Linked DNA regions of Homo sapiens: all the other regions are linked to region 6. The links are contacts of gene promoters, found by promoter capture Hi-C in human tissues and cell types (Jung and others, 2019). All regions are on one chromosome and are shown on one strand. Each heading gives the region's core, a stretch centred on a gene start or on the middle of the fragment in contact. The rest is flanking DNA. Distances are from core to core; before and after follow the strand shown. Region 1 overlaps L3MBTL4 (L3MBTL histone methyl-lysine binding protein 4). Region 2 overlaps L3MBTL4 (L3MBTL histone methyl-lysine binding protein 4). Region 3 overlaps L3MBTL4 (L3MBTL histone methyl-lysine binding protein 4). Region 4 overlaps L3MBTL4 (L3MBTL histone methyl-lysine binding protein 4). Region 5 overlaps L3MBTL4 (L3MBTL histone methyl-lysine binding protein 4). Region 6 holds the start of TMEM200C (transmembrane protein 200C). Region 7 has its middle 51 kb from the start of EPB41L3.

Region 1 (3,191 bases), core at 370-2,869, 310 kb after region 6:
GGCATTTGGAATGTCAGAACTGCAGCTGGTCAGAAATAGTACACTTCTGTTCAGGAAAATGGCAGAGAATGTGTATGTCTCCTCCAAAGCTAAGACAAATTCCACAGACTCTTGTTTTCTCTGAAGGAATAGAGTGAGTACATATTGCACATTCTGACTGAAGGTCTGGGAAATGAGGAGGCTTCATTATCACAGCAGGTCAGAGGTCTTATACTTTTTGAGCAAATATAAAGCTTTGAATGAAGGGCCAAGAGTATGCAGAACGAAGAATCTGCTTTATCAAGAACTGTTAGTCTAAAATAAGGTCCTTACTCAAAGGTCCATTAACCCTTGAAACACAAATATAATCCTGTATTGGTGTACACTTATATGTGCATTTTGCATTGGAGCTATCTGTAGCATCCCTCAGACACTCAAAGAAATGTATATCCCTAAAAAAGAAGAGTTAAGAACAACTAGTGCTACATCATCATCTTTTATTTAAGAAGTTTCTACACAGTGTTGTGCATAGAAAACTGTGAAACATTCTATTTCTATTCTATCTGGCTCATGACTGAGCTGATGTCTCTAGCCAAATAATCATGTCAGGATCTCACTAGATCTCGCAGGTCAGGCTGGTAAGATGGGTACAGGGTGGGGGAGTTATCCAGGGAGTTCTAGAGTAGGCGCCAATTCATCACCAAGGCCACATGTTTCCGTAGTGCTGCTCGGCCCGTGTTTCCGTTATTGGTATGCTGACTTTAATAAAAATGTGAAAGGTAAGTCCCTACTACAGTTCTTGGAGAATACAAATACAGTGAGAGACTATACATCCTTTCAGGGGCTTGGCTACTTTCACACTGAAAACCAAATAAAAAGAGGGTTATCAACTGATAGGAGAAAAAAATATGTATTTCTTTTAAATCTAGAAGCTGTTGATTACATGGTAGCCCGCATTTCTTCTACCTTTTTTTACTTAATAGCTAAAATTGATCTAAAACTAGATTGAAAAGTAAATATAGATGTGATTTGGTCCAAAAATCAGATATTGGAAAAAATAAGACAAGGATACAAAACTATTTATACTAAAGGTAACAACTAATAAATTCATCTAATAGTCTAACCAGTACAGTATCTCTTAAGACAGGGGTTGGCAGATTACAGCCCACAGGCCAAAAAGACCCTTATTACCACCTGTTTCTGTGAGTCCCATGAGCTAAAAATGTTTTTTACATTTCTGAATGGCTGGGGAGAAAGTCAAGAGAAGATTGTTTCATGACATGTGAAAAGTATGTGTGATGCAAATTTCAGAGTCATTTATTTGTTTATATATTGTCTCTGGCTGTTTTTGTGATGAACAGCAGAGTCGAGCAGTTACTGCAGAGACCACATGGCCCACAAAGCCTGAAATATTTACTCTCTGGCTCCTTACAAAAAAGGCACTGCCACCTGGTTTAAGAGCTCAGGCTGAAGAACCAGGCCAACTGGTTCCCACCTGGCTCTACCACTTATAAGCTGTGCAACCTTGGCCAAGTCTTTTAAGCTTTCTGCGCCTATTTCCTTACATATGCTACTTTATTGGGTTGCTGTGAAGAATAAGAGTAAGAAAATGGGAAGCAAGGACACAGCAGCATGGGGGTTTGAGTGAGCCAGCTCTAGTACTGTCACTGCTCTTCTTCATTTTACCTGGAATTAACTGAGGCACGTTCACCTGGTTGAGCACTCTCTCTGCTTCAACTTTTCTGGAATTCATGGCTGACACTAATTTATAGTTTTACCTACTCAAAAAATCATCTTTTCATTGATGGGTCATAACACTTCTGAAAATTGTCCCAGTCTCCTTCCCAAATGAAGACAGCCATCAATCACTGTGACACTGTGATGACCATTAATTACAAGCTTAGCTCAAAGGACATATATTTTTAATGTTGGTATCTTGCTCTATCCTCGTATTTCAAAGCCCTTTTCAAAAATGCATCCCAGGCCAGGTGCGACGTCTCACACCTATAATCCCAGAACTTTGGGAGCCGAGGCAGGTGGATCACTTCAGCTCAGGAGTTCAAGACCAGCCTGGGCAACACTGCAAACCCCCATCTCCGCAAAGAAAAAAAAAATTAACAAAAATTAGCTAGGTGTGGTGGCGCACACTGTAGTCTCAGCTACTCAGGAGGCTGAGGTGTGAGAATTGTGTGAGCCCATGGAGGTCAAGGCTGCGGCAGGCCATGATTGTGCCACTGCACTTTAGCCTAGGCGACAAAACAAGACCCTGTCTAAAAAATAAATAAATAAATAAATAAATAAATAAATAAATAAATAAATAATGCATTCCAGTTAGATAGAGGTCAGGTGGCTTTCTGGAAGCACAGGCAACCCTTAGTAAAGTGAACATCACTAACTCATATCTGGACTTTTGTTTTGCATTAATACTCCTGCAGGTTTTTCTCAAACAAGAGCTTTTGAACTTATTGGTCTGACATAAAACCCAAAATAGTTTCTAGTTACATAACTAGACAGCCATAACAATTTCTCTTGGTCATGATGCTCTAATTTCATTGTGAAATGCCACAAATATGTCCAGTTAATGCATTAAATAGGAAAAGACTTGTTGAAGAGACTCAATTTATTAATGATTCAGTAGAACTTATTAAAGCATCTATTTGAAATTCATTTATAATTCATTTCACAGCTTAGCTGCATTTCCCACAGGGCAAATATTTATCAAATGTTACTCTGTTTTAAGTCCTTCCTTTATCTTTATTTGTAGAATACTTTTTCCCACAAATAATGGCTAAACTTCCTAAAAGCATCCACCCATCTACTGTAATTTAATGTGCATTTTCTGATAAGGCAACAGTAATGGGCTTTCAGATATAACAGCACACACTGTACAACCAAACAAAAGAATAATTATTAAACATAATAGCTGGCTATAAATTGAACAAGATACACTGAGTACATCATAAACGCTTATTAGAGAGCAACCATCATAATTAATAAACCTAGCATCTTAAAACCCTGCCATGGCATGAAAAACTTCACCACTCAACTGCCAATGAACCACATATCACCAAATGAATATTTTCAGTATAAAAATCAGAAAATCTGACCTGACTAGTTTAAGTGGATTTATGAGGGTGAGCGAGTAGAGGATCTTGGATGAGGCTGCTCATGGTCCTATCCCCCAGCACTGACCATGTATGATCTCCAATTCC
Region 2 (3,073 bases), core at 366-2,865, 350 kb after region 6:
AGGTGTCAGCACTTAGCCTCTGGACAAAGCCATCAAATGCCTGTAAAAATATCCGGCAACTGTCACACAGTTTATATTCATAACAAAGGCCCAGGAAACTAGCTTTCCTTTGTGCTTTTGCCTTTTGTTGTGCAGGGAGGTTTTCTTTCCCTTATCATCTTCATATTTCCCTCTTTTTTCTTAGAATAATTTGTATTAATTTTAAAATATGATGTTTACTGAACACAATAGTATCAAATAACCTTCTCTGCTTCCCATAGGCTTTTGAAGTTTCCAAATGCCACTATTTGAAAAAGTGGTGAAGATATGCTCTAATTAGCACCAAAGTATCCTGTTAATTTGATTACTCAATCTGAAAATAAGTGGCTTTTTCAATATTTAAGAAATACATGCTTAAATAAAATTATAATTTAAAATGTGTATTTATATATAATTTATATATATTTAACATATAATTTAAATTTATAATTTTAAAATGTGAGTGCTTTTTTACTATCTGTGCTTTTCTTAGTATAAAAATACTATGAACTATGATTTACAATAACATAACAATTACAAACCCACCCTTCATATATCTATAATTAGCCAATCCTGGGATTTAGGGAGTACATACAGTATCCGGGAACTGAAAGAGGGTGTTTTTCTCTACTTCTCTTTCATCAAACCCTGATTTTTATTCTCCTTCAGCACATTCTATTTTTACAGCAACTTCACGTTTTAATAGCTCCTTTTCTTGATACAAATCTAGGAAACATATTTAACGATTGTATAACACTGCTTTCAAGATCACAGAAGTGATGTCTGGAGAAATTCAGTGAGTGGCCTGCACAGTGACACCGCCTGCCAGTGGCAGAGCCGACTTCTGGAGTTGCAATTTATTCTCCTCCACTGAAGGTTCACTAGATTTCTGGGGACACGGATGGCATAAGAAGTGTGATCTACCCAGATCCGCAGAACACCCCTTCAATTAGTACAAAATGTTACTCTCATTTTCATTACACTTAAATATATCTAGGCTGGGTACATTCAAAGCCTACTTAGAGTATCTGCTGGTTTCAAAACACCAAAAGCAAGATTAAAGGATTAACTCCCTGTAAGGGAAAACATTTTTAAAAGACACTTTCAATTTTAGTAGGCTTTAAACATAAAGTTTTTAAGTTTTCCCAACTTTTTCTCATCTAATTGAAGTATTTAATTATACTTTTAAAGGAAGAAAACCAAGATATGCCCACAAGAAACTGACGAATTAGGTGAGAAAAGTGACAGGAAGTTAACAGTTTCCATAACTTCTTAAAGGATTAAAATAAAACAGAATATATAGTGAATTTTAAGAAATTTAAGCTTGGGGGAAATTTGATTTATGCTGGGAAAGAAAATACTTACAGGACTTCTGTTTCTGAATAATTTCTTTGGAGCATTTTGCAATTTGCAGGCCTTCAAGTAATCCATCCAAACAAATTTATCTTTTCTATAACCTAAAAAAAGCACAGATTACTCAAAATACCCAAAAGATGTAATCACATGCATATTAAATATATTAGGTTGGTGCAAAAGTAAGTGCGGTTTTGGCCATTACTTTTAATGGAAAAAAAACGCAATTACTTTTGCACCAACCTCATATGGTTATTATTAGTGTCCTGCCATAAATTCAACGTCCTTAGCACCCACAAAAGATTTAAATTAAAATCTCCAAATTGTTTCACCTTTTTAAAATGTATTATGTGCAAAACTGTTGATAGTGCTTCCCCATCACGCGCATCATTCCCGATACAATTTCACATGCTCTGATACGGAGTCAGTACTCTGGTGGCCTGATGGGAGTCTCATCGCCCATTAAGGCTTTCCTGAATGGGCAAAGGGATGAGACCAGAGTTCCCGTACCTGTCCCCACTCCTGAGGAAGAGACTTTACAGAGACCATCAGAGGTCCTGAGGGTGCAGCCATCCAGGATGCCAGGCACAGAAACGCCTTCTCAATCCAATGCCCACTCCACAGCTCCAGCTTTCTGCGCCGCATCTTTACTAGTCTCCCATTAAAAACTGCTGCATCCTCCCATTCGCATGCCCTGGCGTGGCTCTCACACAGTGCTGGCCAAACAGTACAGGCTCAAAATATGGTTCTGAGCACCAGCCTTGGAACAGAAGTCAAACTCCCTGCACAGCCTTCCAGGCCTGGGAACACCACCCTCTTCGTCCCCGACCTTCCCACCTGGGCGCTTCTCTGCTGTCTCCCTGAGATGACTCATCCTCGCAAAGCGCACTCCTGCCCCGGCGCCTGCTCCTGTTCTTCCCTTGGAGGGCTTACCCAGACACCACACTGCTTCCTCTGTCATTTCACCCACGTCTCTTTGGAACATTATGTCCACAGAGAGGCCTTTCTCCCCCATGCTTTCTGAAAGAGTGTCCCTGCAGCCACCGCCATTATCCTTCTCCTCTGAAATGAAGCCCCGTGGAGATAGAGACATTGCTTTACTTGCTACTGGCCCTCAGTGCCTCACGTGGTAAGGGCTCCATAAATACCTACTGAATGAATGAGCCTGTAGCCTGTCACCAGCTTCCTCCAAACCAGCAACCTCAAGGACTCTGCCATCAGCCTCAGGGGAGGATCCCAAGGGACACCCTGAGTGGATAACTAGGAATAAAGGACTGTATACTGACTCCAGAAGTTGCCACAGACATCGAACAGTCTGACATCCAAGCCAGAGACAATGTACAGAAGTTTGCTGTGCAAAGATATGAGCCCGTCAGCATCATCCTTGACCACATCCCCACCTCACTTGCACACAGCAAATCGAAAAGGTTTTGGTCACATCTGCCTGGCCCAGACTCCTCTAGCACATAACAAAACCATGATATTTTTCATTCCCATCGAAAGAAAATAGTGATTTTTTTCATAGTTCTTTGTTTTCCGTGATTCCTAAGTCTGAAACAAATTACTTACAGTGAATCAAGTTTCCTCACCTTGCTGTATCATTGATTAGATATTTTGTTTCAACCATGATTTAAATATTAGTCTGCACTGCTTATAAGGTTTAATAAACTTTATATAAAATAAAATAAAATGCTTTCATAAT
Region 3 (2,844 bases), core at 26-2,525, 500 kb after region 6:
TAAACTCAAAGCTAGCAGAAGAAAAGAAATAACAAGGATCAGAACAGAATGAAGTGAAATTGAAAAACAAAGATACAAAAGATCAATGAAACAAAAACCTGGTTCTTTGAAAAGATAAACAAAATTGATATACCATTATTAGCTATATTAACCAAGAAAAGAAGAGACAACATTCAAATAAGCTGAATTAGAAATGAAAGTGGAGACATTACAACCAACACCACAGAAATACAAAAAATCCTTCGAGACTGCTATGCACACCTCTATGCACACAAACTAGAAAATCTAGAGGAAATGGATAAATTCTTGAAACATACGACCTTCCTAGATTAAATCAGGAAGAAACAGAAACCATGAACAGACCAATAACAAGCAGTGAGACTGAATCAGTAATTTAAAAATCACCAGCACCAACAACAAAACCTAGGGCCAGACGTATTCACAGCTGAATTCTACCAGACATTCAAAGAACAACTGGTCCCAATCCTACTGAAACTATTCCAAAAGATTGAGAAAAAGGGAATCCTCCCTAATTCATTTGATGAAACCAGTACCACCCTGATACCACAACCAGGAAAGGACATAACAAAAAAAAACAAAAGTCTACAGACAAATATCCCTGATGAACACAGATGCAAAAATCTTCAACAAAATACTAGCTAATTGAATCCAACAGCACATCAAAAGATAATACACCATGATCAAGTGGGTTTCATCCCAGGGATGCAAGAATATTTTAACATACATAAGTCAAGAAATGTGACACATCACACAAACAGAATTAAAAACAAAAACCATATGATCATCTCAATAGATACAGAAAAAGCATTTTATAAAATCCAGCATCCTTTATGATAAAAACCCTCAACAAACTAGGCATAGAAGAGATTTACTTAAAAACAATAAAAGCCATATATGGAAAACCCACAGGCAATATCACACTGAATAGAGAAAAGTTGAAAGCATTCCCCATGAGACCAGAACAAGACAAGGATGACCACTTTCACCATTTCTATTCAACATAGTGATAGTAACACTAGTCATAGCAATCAGACAAGAGAAAGAAATAAAGGGGATCCAGATTGGAAAAGAGGGAGTCAAACTAACACTGTTCACCTATGATATGATCATATGCCTAGAAAACCCTAAAGATTCCTCCAAAGGCTCCTAGATTTGATAAGCAAATTTGGTAAAGTCTCAGGTTACAAAATCAACGTACACAGATTAATAGCACCACTAAATACCAACAATGACCAAGCCGAGACTCAAATCAAGAACGCAATCCCTTTACAACATCTGCAAACAACAACAACAACTACTACTACTACTACTACTACTACTAGGACTATACTTAACCAAGCAGGTGAAAGATCTCTACAAGGATAACTGCAAAACACTGCTGAAATAAATAACAGATGACACAACAAATGGAAACACATCACATGCTCATGGATGGGAAGAATCAATATTGTGAAAATAACCATACTGCCCAAAGTACAAATTCAGTGCAATTCCTATCAGAACACCAATATCATTTTTAATAGAATTAGAACAATCCTAAAATTCATATGGCATGTGGAACCAAAAAGGAGCCCAAATAGCCAAAACAACCCTAAGCATAAAGAATAAATCTGGAGGCATCACATTACCAGACTTCAAATTATACTATAAGTCTACAGTTACCAAAACAGCATGGTACTGGTATAAAAGTAGGCACACAAACCAATGGAACATAATAGAGAGCCCAGAAATAAAGCCAAATACTTACAACAAAAGCATACAGCAACATAAATTGGAGAAAGGACACCCTATTAATAAATGGTGCTGGAGCCAGGCGCAGTGGCTTACATCCGCAATCCCAGCACTTTAGGAGGCCAAGGTGGGTGGATCACTTGAGATCGGGAGTTCAAGACCAGCCTGGCCAACATGGCAAAGCTCCATCTCTACTAAAAATACAAAAATTAGCTGGGCATGGTGGCACACGCCTATAATCCCAGCTACTCAGGAGGCTGAGGCAGCAGAATCATTTGAACCTGGGTGGCAGAGGTTGCAGTGAGCCAAGATCGTGCCACTGCACTCCAGCCTGGGCAACAGAACGAGAGACTCTGTCTCAATAAATAAATAAATAGTGCTGGGAAAACTGAATAGCCACATGTAGAAGAATGAAACTGGATCCCTAATTCTCACCCTATACAAAAATCAACTCAAGATGTATCAAAGACTTAAGACCTGAAACCAAAAAATTCTAGAAGATAACCTTGGAAAAACTCTTCCAAACATCAGCCTAGGCAAAGAATTTATTACTAAGACTTCAGAAGCAAATGCAACAAGAACAAAACTAAATAAATGGAACCTAATTAAACTAGGTGAAGTAACTCAGGAATGGGAAACCAAATTCCATATCTTCTCATTTATAAGTGTGAGCTCAGCTATGAGGACACAAAGACATATAGAGTGGTATCAAGAACTTTGGAGACTCAGAAGTGGGGAGAGTAGGAAGGAAATGAGAGACAAAAAAAACTACATATCAGATACAATGTATACTATTTGGCTTATGGGTACATTAAACCTCAGAATTCACCACTATACAATTCAACCATGTAACCAAAAACCACTTGTAACCCAAAAGTGATTGAAATAAAAAAAAAAATTTTAACTATAAAGATAATAAACCCCCTATAGAGCCTACAGACATCATATTTAATTTATGCGAATTCAACGGGCCAAATGTAATCACACATTATATGAATCACAAATATTTGCTTTTTTAGATATGCAACTAATTTCTCTGTGCACTATCTCACGTTAGCTTTCTGTGATGCTCCTAGGACAGAAACTTAGCCC
Region 4 (3,234 bases), core at 186-2,685, 370 kb after region 6:
CACCTTTCTAGTCATGTATGCCAGGATTCAGGGGTTTCAATGTCTTCTCTAACATCTTGCTTGACTCACCACTCTTAGAAACACATCCAAACAGATCCCTCTAACTGCAGGTAATACTGGCTAATAGAAGTAAAACCTAACACTTTCTTGAGCATTTATAGTATGCACATTGCATCCTATATCCTTTACGGGTACAACTGATTTAGTCCTCCAACCACCCAAGGAGAAAGGTAGGGAACCTTTCCTACCTCATGGATGAGGAAACTGAACTGAATGACTTGCCCAAGGTCACAGAGCTGGCAGGTGGCGGCGCCGGGCTCCAGCCCACTCTGAAACACTAAAGCTCTGATTAGGTTTGTGGGGTCATTTTCCAGCAGAGCCTACAAATAATTCAAATAAGTTGATGGGCTATCTAGGAAAGTCATTTCATTTAAACTAAACCTCTTAAGTGTTGCTTCCTTGCAAAAATATAAGTCCTTCAGTGGCTGACCTTGGAAAACAGCTCAACAGGTGCTGCGACAGCCTTCTGTTCTTTCAAGTACCACTCCCAAGACCATGCTCCCTGTGCAGCCGCTGAAGGGACTGGAAGAGAAAACACAATGACTTTTCTCAAAATGATTAGTGACAGGAAAATAATAAAACTTACTTGACAATAAACTCAAGAAGCAGGCTAATTAGTTAAATTGGTAGTTGAAAGACCCAGCAACTAAGAAGAGTCTTCTCTCTCAATTCATATGAACATTTAGTAAAATCACCTAACCACTCCATATTCAGCTCTTCCTGTTTCGGACCAGGCTAATGAATATGTCTCACCCTCTAGAAAATGCCTAGTGAACTCTCAAGTTAGGTACCATCTTGCTCCTCTCTAAGAGGGTGAACAGGCACAGGCTTTCTGGAAAGTGATTTAGCTAATTTTACAGTTAATAGTCTAAAGTTTTTTATAATCTCCTTCCACTTTCATACTTCTTTTTGCTGTGAATGTCAATTGGCACAACCTGTGGAAAGCTAATGTGGCAGTATTTGTCAAAGCTTAAAAATCGTTCCTGGCCTGGCGTGGTGACTCACGCCTGTAATCCCAGCACTTCGGGAGGCCAAGGCAGGTGGATCACCTGAGGTCAAGAGTTTGAGACCCGCCTGGCCAATATGGTGAAACCCCGTCTCTACTAAAAATACAAAAATTAGCTGGGCATCGTGGCGGGTGCCTGTAATCCCAGCTACTTGGAAAGCTGAAGCAGGAGAATTGCTTGAACCCAGGAGGTGGAGGTTGCAGTGAGCCGAGATCGCACTACTGCACTCCAGCCTGGGCCACAAGAGCGAAATCTCATCTTGGGGAAAAAAAAATCGTTCCTAAAAGTCGAACCAGCAATTCTCCTAGGAATTTGTCTTAATGCAATCGCAGTAGACACGCCCAAGGGGCAAAACACAAGAGTTTTTTTCCTAGAATCCCACATCAAATTAAACACTGGAAACAAAGTAAAGGTCCACAAAGGAGGAGGTAATTAAACGCGTTACATGGACATGCCCTTTCAAAACCAGCCAGTAAATTGCTTTGTAGACAACTGTCTAAAGGCAGAGAAGGACTATGTAATGATATACTACTAAGTAGGAAAAAGAAGCAGTTAAGGAAACAAATTGATCATTTTTGGTAAATGTGTAATAGATTAAATGATCATTTTTGGTAAATGTGTAATAGATTAAATAAGACTAAACTTACATAAATCAAAAACATTCAAATGAAATCATCTTAAGTGCCAGAATTATAAATAATTCCTTCCCAATTTTCTTTGTGCTTTCTTTTTCTGCTTTCCAAATTTTCTAGATGAATAGCTAATCTTTGTAATTCAACAAAATTATCATTTTTGAATAACAAAAGCTGGCAAAAAGGATTAATAGTTATCTCAGGTTTACATTCTACTCCCCAGTACTTCTTCTCTAGGATTACATACTAAGAGAGTAGTTAAGCACTGATAAAAGTTGATGGTAAAAATGTACATCACAAAATAACAGCAAAATGCAAAGTAGTATTAATATGGGAAGGAGGTTAAAGAAACTATTGTATATACATACATATATGATTCTGAGGTTATCGAAAACTATATTTTTATGCTTTATGTATTTAATATATTTTGAGAATTATCTGGGTTAAGTAAAAAAACTAAGTAAAGACACAAAACGGTGTCTATTTAGATCATATCTGCTGTTTTGTGTCCTTACTTATGCTAAGTGAAATAAGTTAGGCACAGTGAAATAAGTTAGGCACAGAAAAATAAATACTGCATGATCTTATAGACATGCAATAAAAAAAAGTCAAACTCATTGAAGCAGTGCTTAGAAAGGTGGTTACCAGAGGCTGGATGACAAAGGAATCGGGAATGGGGAGATGTTGCCCAAAGGATACAACGTTCCAGTTAGACAGCAGGCATAAGCTTTAGAGATATGTTCCACAGCATGCTGACTATAGTGAATAATGTTATATACCTCAAAACTGCTAAAAAGAATAGATTTTAAATATTCTCATGACAAAAAACATAAGTATGTGAGGTGACGGATATGTTAATTCACTTGATATAATCATTCCACAAGCATATTTCAAAAATTACATTTTACCCCATAAATATATACAATTATTTCTCATTTAAAAATAAAAAAACATACATACATATATATTATACAAGTTATTCCATATATTAAGACATTCATTTATTCACATATTTATACAGCAACTTCTATGTGCTAAGCAACAGGCATATGTATGTCCACACAACCAAACACATTCACGTAGAAAAGCAATTGGAAAGAAACAGCAGAATACTAACAGTGGCTACATGTGGATGGCAAGATTGACATAAATATTCTTTCTTTATTTAACACAATCTATATTTTAAAAATTATCTGCAAGTATTACTACTTAGCTATACACACACACATCCTTGGAGAATACTCATCAGAAAACGCTGAGTCCTAATTTTAGCATCTATCTTTGCTGTGAATGTTCCAGAAGAAGATGCAGATGGTAAAAGGTCAGTGCTGCATCAGCACCAGAGATGACAGGAGGTAAGATGCACCTCTCACTAGAACATTTGAAACCTCTCGAGACAATACAACAATGTGACTGAATAACAAACACAAAATCCATCAATTGGGCAGGAATAATTCACGTAAACTTTTTGTCGTTAAAAAATTTCTGGCCAGGTGCAGTGGCTTACACCTGTAATCCCAGCACTTGGGAAGCTG
Region 5 (3,218 bases), core at 530-3,029, 390 kb after region 6:
TTAAAAGCCAGCAGATAGAGAAGAAAATCATTTTGATCGCTGTGCTGTTTCTTAAAAGCAAAACGTGAAACTCCCATGTAAATAACACCCTCTCTACACTAAAAGGAATAGCAACATTCTTATCTTCAAGGACAAAGAGTCAAGACCAAGAAAATACTATGCAGACCTTGGTAGGCTAACTCTTAGCTTGTGGGCCTCCTGATATCATTTAGTCACATTTCACAGTTGACTATCCTTTTGCCAATACAGGATATTGGTATCGGATTCAAACTGCTTTATCCAAAATTTGGTTCACAGCCTTTATAAGATTACCTATTTAAATAAATCTTACCCTGAGCAACATAATGAGACCCTGTCTCTATAAAAATTTAGAAATTAGCCAGGTATGGTAGCTACATGCCTGAGGTCCCAGCTACTCAGGAGGCTGAGGGAGGAGGATCACTTGAGCCCAGAAGGTCAAGGCTACAGTGAGCTGTAGTCACATCGCTGCACTCCAGCCTGGGTGACAAAACGAGACTCTGTCTCAACAAAATAAAAGAGAAATCTTAAAGTTTGACCCTATCCCATTTTGTCAGAAAAATAATCTGGATCCAACTGTCTTTATATTATAAACTGGTGAGTGTACATGTTTTATAATCTCATAACTGAAATTCTAAAGTAAAAGCTATACAATCTCTCTGTGTATGTATATGTGTTTAGAATGTGTTTATACATATGTAAATGTATTATGTTGTATGTTGTGTCAACATAATAAAATCTGGCATAGTCATCAAGAAATCCCTTAAGAAATTTTATTCCAATTGATTTAAATAAATGAGTGCTCATATAAAATATATGCTAACTAACCCAAATGTTTATTTTTAGTTCACATGACTTAAGTAAATCTTTGATAAATTAATTGGTTTTTAAACTTTTGGTAAATTAGAAATATCTTCAAAATTGTCAACATATATTTTTGCCTGAGCTTACTGGTCAGACAGTAAACATCTGCTAAATGTTTTAAGGTCATGAACCTATGAACCCAGCCTAAAACAAAATGATCTTGTTTATGCAATTCGTTGATAAATAAGATCAATTTAATGTTATTGATTTAATAAAAACAGTTGTCTTCTGAGTTATCATTAAGATACCCATGTATTTAACTTTAAGGTTTACTTAGGTAAATACCTGGTATTAACAGGATGTAAAATTGGTTAATAAAAAAAAACTTGAAATAATAACTAGCTCTAATATCTCACTTTTCATAAGTAATCCAGGTATAGTAATTTTAAAAATAAATGTTAGGTAATGGTAAATGGAATAAAGTTTACAAATGAAATTTTCATATAATTTAAAATATTAAATTTATATTATTGTTAAATAATAAATCATTAAGTTTCTGGGTCGTATCCAAATAAGATAAAAACTGAAACAAATTGCTGAATAAATATAAGTCCCTTCTTGCGTCCTTAAATTTTATAAAAAGACCAAATATACTTAGGTCTAATAATCAAAATATAAATTTAAAGAAAAAAATTTGTATGAGAAAGAATCTTATATAGTAAGTTGTTGTCCTAAGATAAAATGATTGGTTGTCCCAAAGTTTTTTTAAAAAGAGAAAAATTGTAGGACTGAGACTGAGGATTGGGGAAAATGATAAAGGTCTAAACAAGTTTAAAAAGATTTATAAAGAATGGGTCTTAGGAAGGACATTTTATGTGTGACTGGGTTTAAAGAGATTGGGAAAAATTTGCTTGTTTTTCTAAAATTTCTAAAAATTAAATGTTAGTGTGAGGGGTGCACTGATACAGGACCAGAGTCTAGTCCTCTATATTTAAAACAACAAGGTTTTTTTGAAATATTGATCTGCTCTTTAAAAAATTACAACAGGTTTTGATTTTTATTTATAAAATCTGTTTAACAGCCATCTTCTAAACTGCGCAATTCCTATTCCTAACACTTTTCTTCATGAGATCCTTTTAGTTTCCCTAGTTTCAAGTTTAAAATGTTGTCCTCTTCATTTAAAATGGTAATTTGATTTCTTTAGGTAAAGTTTTCCTTTTAAAATTTCTCAGATTCCTGTCTCAGAGGTTAATCTTTGCTGTATCTCCCTGCATGTGATTTATAGGTCAGACATCACTGCCTTCAGCTTGTTCTCCCCTTGAGAAGGACTGGGATGACAACTCTCTACTTCAACTTTTTTTTTTCAGATCCTGTAACTTGTCAGTACAATTCTAACTCAGCTGTTATGGCCTGACAGTGAAATGTTTATCTTGAAGGCTTGGAAAAGCAATGTTTTCATGCAGTATAACTTGATTCTGTCCTCATGAATTGCTACATACATAACCTTGGACACATTTTTCCTGTATCTGATCAAGTAACCTTTCATCAGATTTCACTTCCAGGTTATCTTTTTGTTTCTTTGTTTTTTGTTTTTGTTTGTTTGAGACAGGGACTTGCTCTGTTGCCTAGGCTTGAGTGCAATGGTGTGATCATAACTCACAGCTTCAACCTCTTGAGCTCAAGGAATCCTCTGGCCTCAGCCTCCTGAGTGGCTGGGACCACAGACACGTGTCACCACACCCGGCTAATTTTGTTTATTTCTTGTAGAGACAAGGTCTCACTAGGTTGCCCAGGCTGATCTCCTGGGCTCAAACGATCCTACCACCTGGATCTCCCAAAGTGCCTGGGTTACAGGCATGAGGTGCCGTGCCCAGCCTACTTCCAGGTTACCTAAATGAGCTTCCTATAAAAAGGAACAATCAGACTGCAGAAGGGTTTTTTTTTTTTTTTACCTTTTTGGTAGCTTGCCTAAGAAACAGAGTGTATAGTTTATCAATATAATTTCCTGTGTTGCCTTTATTAGGTTTTTGATTACTTAAAAACTAAACAAAACAAAAACTAAGCTTTAAAAGAATTAAGGATGTTTTCCATTTAATTCTCTGTATTGCTTTTCACAGCTTTTTGATTATCACTATGGCTACATGAATGACTTTAATTTTACAAGTGAACTGACTGGAATTCTTTTATTTTTTTTTTTTAATTTTTTGAGACAGAGTCTCGCTCTATCACCCAGGTTGGAGAGCAGTGGTGCCATCTCAGCTCATTGCAACCTCAACCTCCCAGGTTCAACCAATTCTCCTGCCTCAGCCTCCCAATTAGCTGGGACTACAGGCATACACCACCATGCCCAGCTAATTTTTGTATTTTTAGTAGAGACAGGGTTTCATCATGTTGGC
Region 6 (3,101 bases), core at 353-2,852:
AAAGAGCTTACTGTCTATCTCTAATCCCAAATAAGTAAGCACATTTATTATGTGGTTGTAACATAGAGACTGTTGTTTTAAGTGATCCTTGGAGTCCAGCATCTTAAATAATCTGGAGATCCGTGGTTATCTTAAGAAGGCTTTAAGGACCAGACATTTTTTAGAAGCGAACTCAGACTCAGTTGGCAGGGTGGCTCTCCCACCGCAGAAAGGCTACATGTTTTGTTGGGCATTGATCAGGTGCGCCGGGAGGCTGGATGCCTTGGGGGAGGAGGAAACCCACTTGGATTTCTCCTCAGCAAGGCAGCTTTGGCTCCGGTAGAATGTAAGGAAGGTTGGAATGGATTTCAACAGTCCTTTACCGCACATCTTTAAAATGAGTTTAATAGCTAGTAATTAACTCCCTCGTTTATTATTCCTTCAGCTCTGTTGAAGGCTGTACTCCCTTTTAATGTATCATCATCTGACACGAAATACAGACAAAGGTCAGATGCCACGGGAGACCCACCTTTGAGGTTTTCCTTTATACCTAATGAAAGAAAACAAACTTAGCAGTCAAGCTTGGCTGCCCTCGCAATTTACTGCCTGGAGCTGGTCTTACCGTGGTTAAAGAATGGAGGATGGGGGAAGCAAAGGAGGGATGTCTAAAAATACAACTGCTTCCAAGAGAGACATTCAAGTTCTCCGCTCAAGATGGATTAAGCCCCACTCTGAGGCTCGGAGGCTCGGATCCCACAGGCTGGGAGCGCTGTGCTGTGCCCGGTACCCAACCCAGGTCCTCGACCCCGGCCCCTCACTGGCAGGGCGGCGACCCCCTGGCCCCTGGCTTTGGTCTGCTTATTGATGTTAGCTGGAGTCACATGAGTGCAGCAGCTGGGAGTCCGCCTCTGGAAAGAAGACAGGCAGGAGCCAAGTGAGGGCAATCCTGAACTAGCTTTTTCTGGGCAGCGCATCCCGTGTAGCCAGCCCGGGAAAAAGCCTCTCACCGAACACCAGCCCGGGGCGCGGGGACTCGGGGACCCGAGGGGCGGGGAGGGGCCCCCAAGGGCTGGGGACTGGCAGAATTGCTCAAAATGGCAGCACTCTCCGCACGCAAGATCGCTCACTTACCCAGGGAGACCGAGGGAGGTCGGGGCCGGCGAACGGGCGCTCGGGCGACACAAAGGAACCATGGAGAAACTTTTTCAGCCCGAGCCGACGGCGGAGCGCAGGGACAGCGCCCCGGGGCCCCGCATCCGAGCGCGACTCAGCAGCCCCGCGGGGGCGAGCGCCCGCCCCAGGCTCGCAGTCCCCGCCGGCGCTGTGGCGGGAGCCATTTCCAAGAGTTTCCAAGAAGTGTCAGGTCCTCCGCATCCCGCATCCCGCATCCCGCCTCGGAGCCCTCCTCTCCGCCGCTCATCCTCCAGCTCCCGGCGTCCCCTAGCGCGGCGCTCCCGGGCGGGCCCCTGCGGCCGCGCCGCCGGCCCTCGCGCCTCTTTTGTGTGGCTGCGGCGCGCCGGGCTCCGCCGGGTGGAGTTGAGCCCGCGGCGGCGGCTCGGGGCGGCCGGACTGGCGGCTGTTGCTAAGAGACCGGAGCCATGACACAGGGAAATTGCGGCAGGGTGGCGGTCGGGGCCCGCCCGGCTCGGCGGAGTCGGGGGGCGCCCCCGCCCCCGCCCCCCGCCCCACCCCCTCCTCCGGCGCCCCCCCCCACGCCGCCGGCCTTCCCCGCTCCCCCGCGTCCTCCGCCGCCCGCCGCCCGTCCCTTCGGAAGCGCCGATTCCTCGGGGAGGAGGAGGCGTGAGGGGAGGCGGCGGAGGCAGCCGGCACGGGGCGCTCGGGCCGCGGGGCAGGGGGCGCGGGGTGCCTCCTCGGCCTCGGCTCTCCCCGCCCCGGGGCGCCCCGAGACCGCCGCCTGCCTCCGCGGGCAGCTTTGTTCTTCTTTCCTCCAACTACCTGTCTGAGCCGCGGGCCCCAGAGGCCCCAAAGAGAGGCCCGGAGGGTCTCCCCAGCAGCATCCGAGGGGCGCTCTCGGGGAGCTAGGGGCCAGAGTCCGCGGTCCCTCCGTGCCTGCCTCCCTCCCCTCGTGCCTCGGTCTTTTGTTGCCTCTACTCCTCGGCACGGCGCAGCCTGGGCTCTCTTCCCCCTCCCGCTTGGGAGTTTGCAGTGTGGACGCTCGGCAAGCACAGTAAGTTGTCCCCCAGCGAACTCGGGCCCGGGCGGAGTGGAGCCGCCCCCGCCGGGACGGGCGCACCGCGGGACGCTTGGAAGCCTCTGCCAGATGCGCTCGCGCTCCAGCCCCGCCGGGCTTTGTGACCAGCCTGACCGGGACCCGGCAGCTGGGGCTCCTCGGAGATCAGAATGGGCTCCGGGGCTCTTCCTTGGGCAGCCCCTCCTGCTCCTCCCCGGTGCGGTAATCAGCAAGCATTAAAAGGAAAACTATAATTCTCCAGGAATCAGGAATCAGGGTTGGAATCAGAGAGGGGAGGTGGGGGTAGGGAGGATGTCCAAACTCCCTACGTCATTTAAAAAAGAGAGAAGGCGAGAGAGAGAGAGAAAGAGATCGAGATCCTGTTTCCTAGTTCATCCCTGTCTTCTCAACTGTAAAGTAAAAATGACAGGGAAAAGAGAATTTCAAAGTGGAATTTCCCCAAAGAGTATTGAGAAAGTGAGAAAGATTTCATTTATCTATTGAAATGAGGCAGCCAGGATTCAGGAAGAAAGGAACAGAAGAGCAGATGAAGCAAGTGCTGTCTGAAATTTTGGATCCAGATAAATATTTTGGTGGTGGTGGGTGTTATATATTCTGAGTTTTGCTGCTTAGGGGTCCACAAAACCCACACAGGAGGGCTCTGCTGCCCGCAGCTCCTGTTACAAGATTGTTCCCCACATACACAGCATTCACTTGTGCTTAAATCTAGAGCAGACACTTTTCAAAAAGAACAATAAAGACAACCAATTTACAAGTTCAATGATATAAATGTGAACAGTGATCTAAGAGATGGGGATAGAGACGGTGGGGGACAGGAGGGAACGAAGCAGAAGTGTTTTCTAAAAGGCAACCCTGCATTCACCTGTTGGAAAGGTGGCCTCTGTCACCCTTTTCAAGCAAATAACGAATC
Region 7 (2,822 bases), core at 225-2,724, 300 kb before region 6:
AAGCAACAGCCGGTTTGAGAAATAAAGGGAGAGAGTACAAAAGAGAAATTTTAAAGCTGGGCGTCCGAGGGAGACATCACATTTTGGTAGGTTCCAAGATGCCCCCTGAGCCGTAAAACCAGCAAGTTTTTATTACAGATTTTCAGAAGGGGAGGGAGTGTACGAATAGGGTGTGGGTCACAGAGATCACGTGCTTCACAAGGTGATAGGATATCACAAGGCAAATGGAGGCAGGGCGAGATCACAGGACCATGGGACCAGGGCGAAATTAAAATTGCTAATGAAGTTTCAGGCACCATTGTCATTGAAAACATCTTATCAGGAGACAGGGTTTGAGAGCAACCGGTCTGACCAAAATTTATTAGGCGGGAATTTCCTCGTCCTAATAAGCCTGGGAGCACTATGGGAGACTGGGCCTTATTTCATCCCTAAGGTCTCAACCATAGAAAATGGCCACACCCAAGGGGGCCATTTTAGAGGCCCACCTTCAGGGGCGCATTCTCTTTCTCAGGGATGTTCTTTGCTGAGAAAAACAATTCAGCGATATTTCTCCCATTTGCTTTTGAAAGAAGAGAAATATGGCTCTGTTCCGCCCGGCTCACCGGCGGTCAGAGTTTAAGGTGATCTCTCTTGTTCCCTGAATATTGCTGTTATCCTGTTCTTTTTTCAAGGTGCCCAGATTTCATATTGTTCAAACACACATGCTCTACAATTTGTGCAGTTAACGCAATTATCACAGGGTCCTGAGGCAACATACATCCTCCTCAGCTGACAGGATTAAGAGATTAAAGTAAAGACAGGCATAGGAAATCACAAGGGTATTGACTGGGGAAGTGATAAGTGTCCATGAAATCTTCACAATTTATGTTTACAGACTGCAGTAAAGACAGGCATAAGAAATTATAAAAGTATTAATTTGGGGAACTAATAAATGTCCATGAAATCTTCACAATCCATGTTCTTCTGCCATGGCTTCAGCCGGTCCCTCCATTCGGGGTCCCTGACTTCCCGCAACACCCCCGCAAAATTTTAAATATCTGTTACCCACCATTGGTACATTACCAATCTGGTAAACCTCTCAATTACATTTAATGCACACAAAGTAAAGTTATTGAATATTTTATCCTGTGTGACCTCATTTTAAGAGGTACATAAGAAAATACTTTTTCTCTGAAGGCCTTGCATTGTAATAAAATATACGGAAAAAAATAACATGTAGTTTTCATAAAAATTGATTTAATTGGTAATTTCAAGAAGGGTAATTTAACTTTTAATTATGTCACCCTAAATTCCTAAGATTGTGTATCTTCCAGCTTCAGACTAGGCAATATCATCATTTTCCCTTCACCCAACCTTTTAGAAGGCAGACTAAAAAACCAGCTTTCTAAATTGTTTGCTCCCCTCACTGTGAATTTAAGCAGCATTTGGCAGTACTGAAGCCTTAATCTAGTCTAGCAGTGAATACTAAGGATGAAGATTTGATCAAGTTGGAAAACCACTTTCACACAGCCCTATTTCTTCTGGAATTAAACAACCAGGACATGATGTTGGATTACATAAGATTATCAAGACAAAACTATTGAAATTGTAATAGGAAACATACGGAAAATAAGGAGAAAATTATCTTTCCCGCAAGAATTAATAAAAATCTTGTTAAAAGACTATAAGGCAATGCCTTATGAGAAACTACTAAGTATACAGAATTAATCAATCCACACTAGGCACATAGAGAATATGCAATGTATTCATTGTTAGATCTCTAAAAATGACCCAGCTTTTGGCTTCTCTAATGTTGAAGTAAAAATATAGCTCAAAATTCTGGGCATTGACTTCTGGGCAAATGGTTATAACTTGCTCTGTAAAGAGAACCAGCCTAATTGTTTAAGATCCAATACCCTCCATTGAAAGAAATGCTTTGTTTCCAAGAGAATCCTTGGAGCTAAAGCAGAGAATTGACAACTGTCCATGTTAAAATAAGTGCAGAAGGAAAGATTCCACTTCATCTCCTTCAAGAGATTTATATGTAGCCCTGGAAGAAAGCTTAGCAGGAGCCACAGATTCCACACTGACTGCTCCTCCATCAGTCTGGGCTGTGCACGCCCTCCCCAGAAGCCAGGAATACACTGTCTCCTGGACAGCCTTCCATTTTCCAGCCCCTTCTTATGCCATCCTCTCAGCAAGCAGGAGCTCCTGTACCTCCTCTCCACCTTGAGGTCTACCCTAGGGGCCATCTCACGTGCCATGTCTTTTGGGAACATTTCCTGGCAGAAGGAATCTGTTGCTTATTTGTTATCTGATGTGCCCACTTCTGCAGTAATTGTGTGAAAGCTCAGAGAGTAGGATGCATCCCACCCCAGCAGCTCAAACAGTGCCTTCCCCATCAGTAAGTGTTTGATACATACTACATACTTGATTTTTAAAAAAAGGCAACTGTAGTAAATTTACTGACCGATTCTCCATTTCAGAATTCCTGGACATGTGCTTATTTTCCTTAACTGTCCACCAAAAAATTTCTAAATCGGTGCTTCTTAAGCAGGTCCATGGGGATCATGGAATACTATTGGGGGTAATCTGTAATCCTCCAAAAATTGTATATTAATTTAATGTATATTCCAGTAGGTGGCTCCCATCTTCCACTCCATCCCCACATTCTCTGGGGAATCTTTATAACCGTTTTTAAGTCTTTAAGGTAACTGTAATCCAAAAAGCAATTTAAAATTCACTGCTCTAAATTTATTTGTGTTTAAACAATGAGGTATAAGAGCTTCCTGAGATGCTTAAACAATGGAATGAGCCACCTCACATAGTGTCCATCCTCTGAA

What was found. The method cuts DNA at HindIII sites, captures the fragments that hold promoters and counts their contacts. A contact is called where the count stands out against the background at its distance.
Region 1: a contact is called between a fragment that was not itself captured here and the fragment with the promoter of TMEM200C in region 6, in 7 of the 25 tissues and cell types used here (IMR-90 fibroblasts, aorta, dorsolateral prefrontal cortex and 4 more).
Region 2: a fragment that was not itself captured here is called in contact with the fragment with the promoter of TMEM200C in region 6 in 2 of the 25 tissues and cell types used here (dorsolateral prefrontal cortex and lymphoblastoid cells).
Region 3: a fragment that was not itself captured here is called in contact with the fragment with the promoter of TMEM200C in region 6 in 1 of the 25 tissues and cell types used here (dorsolateral prefrontal cortex).
Region 4: a fragment that was not itself captured here is called in contact with the fragment with the promoter of TMEM200C in region 6 in 1 of the 25 tissues and cell types used here (mesendoderm cells).
Region 5: a contact is called between a fragment that was not itself captured here and the fragment with the promoter of TMEM200C in region 6, in 1 of the 25 tissues and cell types used here (IMR-90 fibroblasts).
Region 7: a contact is called between a fragment that was not itself captured here and the fragment with the promoter of TMEM200C in region 6, in 2 of the 25 tissues and cell types used here (mesendoderm cells and spleen).

The regions. Positions count from the first base shown.
Region 1 is chr18:6,205,863-6,209,053 of GRCh38, forward strand. The region is part of intron 12 of L3MBTL4 (L3MBTL histone methyl-lysine binding protein 4); the gene reads right to left. Among named protein-coding and RNA genes, the nearest start is that of L3MBTL4-AS1, 49 kb to the right of the region's middle. The HindIII fragment of the contact is 5,486 bases long and covers 1-3,191 here.
Region 2 is chr18:6,239,975-6,243,047 of GRCh38, forward strand. L3MBTL4 (L3MBTL histone methyl-lysine binding protein 4) reads right to left here. Exons shown (of 19, transcript NM_001330559.2): 8 at 1,384-1,475. Among named protein-coding and RNA genes, the nearest start is that of L3MBTL4-AS1, 15 kb to the right of the region's middle. The HindIII fragment of the contact is 6,749 bases long and covers 1-3,073 here.
Region 3 is chr18:6,390,439-6,393,282 of GRCh38, forward strand. The region is part of intron 1 of L3MBTL4 (L3MBTL histone methyl-lysine binding protein 4); the gene reads right to left. Among named protein-coding and RNA genes, the nearest start is that of MIR4317, 17 kb to the left of the region's middle. The HindIII fragment of the contact is 4,562 bases long and covers 1-2,844 here.
Region 4 is chr18:6,263,457-6,266,690 of GRCh38, forward strand. L3MBTL4 (L3MBTL histone methyl-lysine binding protein 4) reads right to left here. Exons shown (of 19, transcript NM_001330559.2): 5 at 491-582. Among named protein-coding and RNA genes, the nearest start is that of L3MBTL4-AS1, 8.3 kb to the left of the region's middle. The HindIII fragment of the contact is 3,896 bases long and covers 1-3,234 here.
Region 5 is chr18:6,287,518-6,290,735 of GRCh38, forward strand. All of the region lies in intron 4 of L3MBTL4 (L3MBTL histone methyl-lysine binding protein 4), which reads right to left. Among named protein-coding and RNA genes, the nearest start is that of L3MBTL4-AS1, 32 kb to the left of the region's middle. The HindIII fragment of the contact is 5,819 bases long and covers 1-3,218 here.
Region 6 is chr18:5,893,920-5,897,020 of GRCh38, forward strand. It overlaps TMEM200C (transmembrane protein 200C), which reads right to left and starts at 1,603. Exons shown (of 2, transcript NM_001395400.1): 1 at 1,111-1,603. All of the region lies in intron 9 of MIR3976HG (MIR3976 host gene), which reads left to right. LOC121725015 (a long non-coding RNA gene) reads left to right here and starts at 1,808. Exons shown (of 3, transcript NR_172505.1): 1 at 1,808-2,167. The HindIII fragment of the contact is 12,914 bases long and covers 1-3,101 here.
Region 7 is chr18:5,593,288-5,596,109 of GRCh38, forward strand. It overlaps a transcript of EPB41L3 not described here. Among named protein-coding and RNA genes, the nearest start is that of EPB41L3, 51 kb to the left of the region's middle. The HindIII fragment of the contact is 8,110 bases long and covers 1-2,822 here.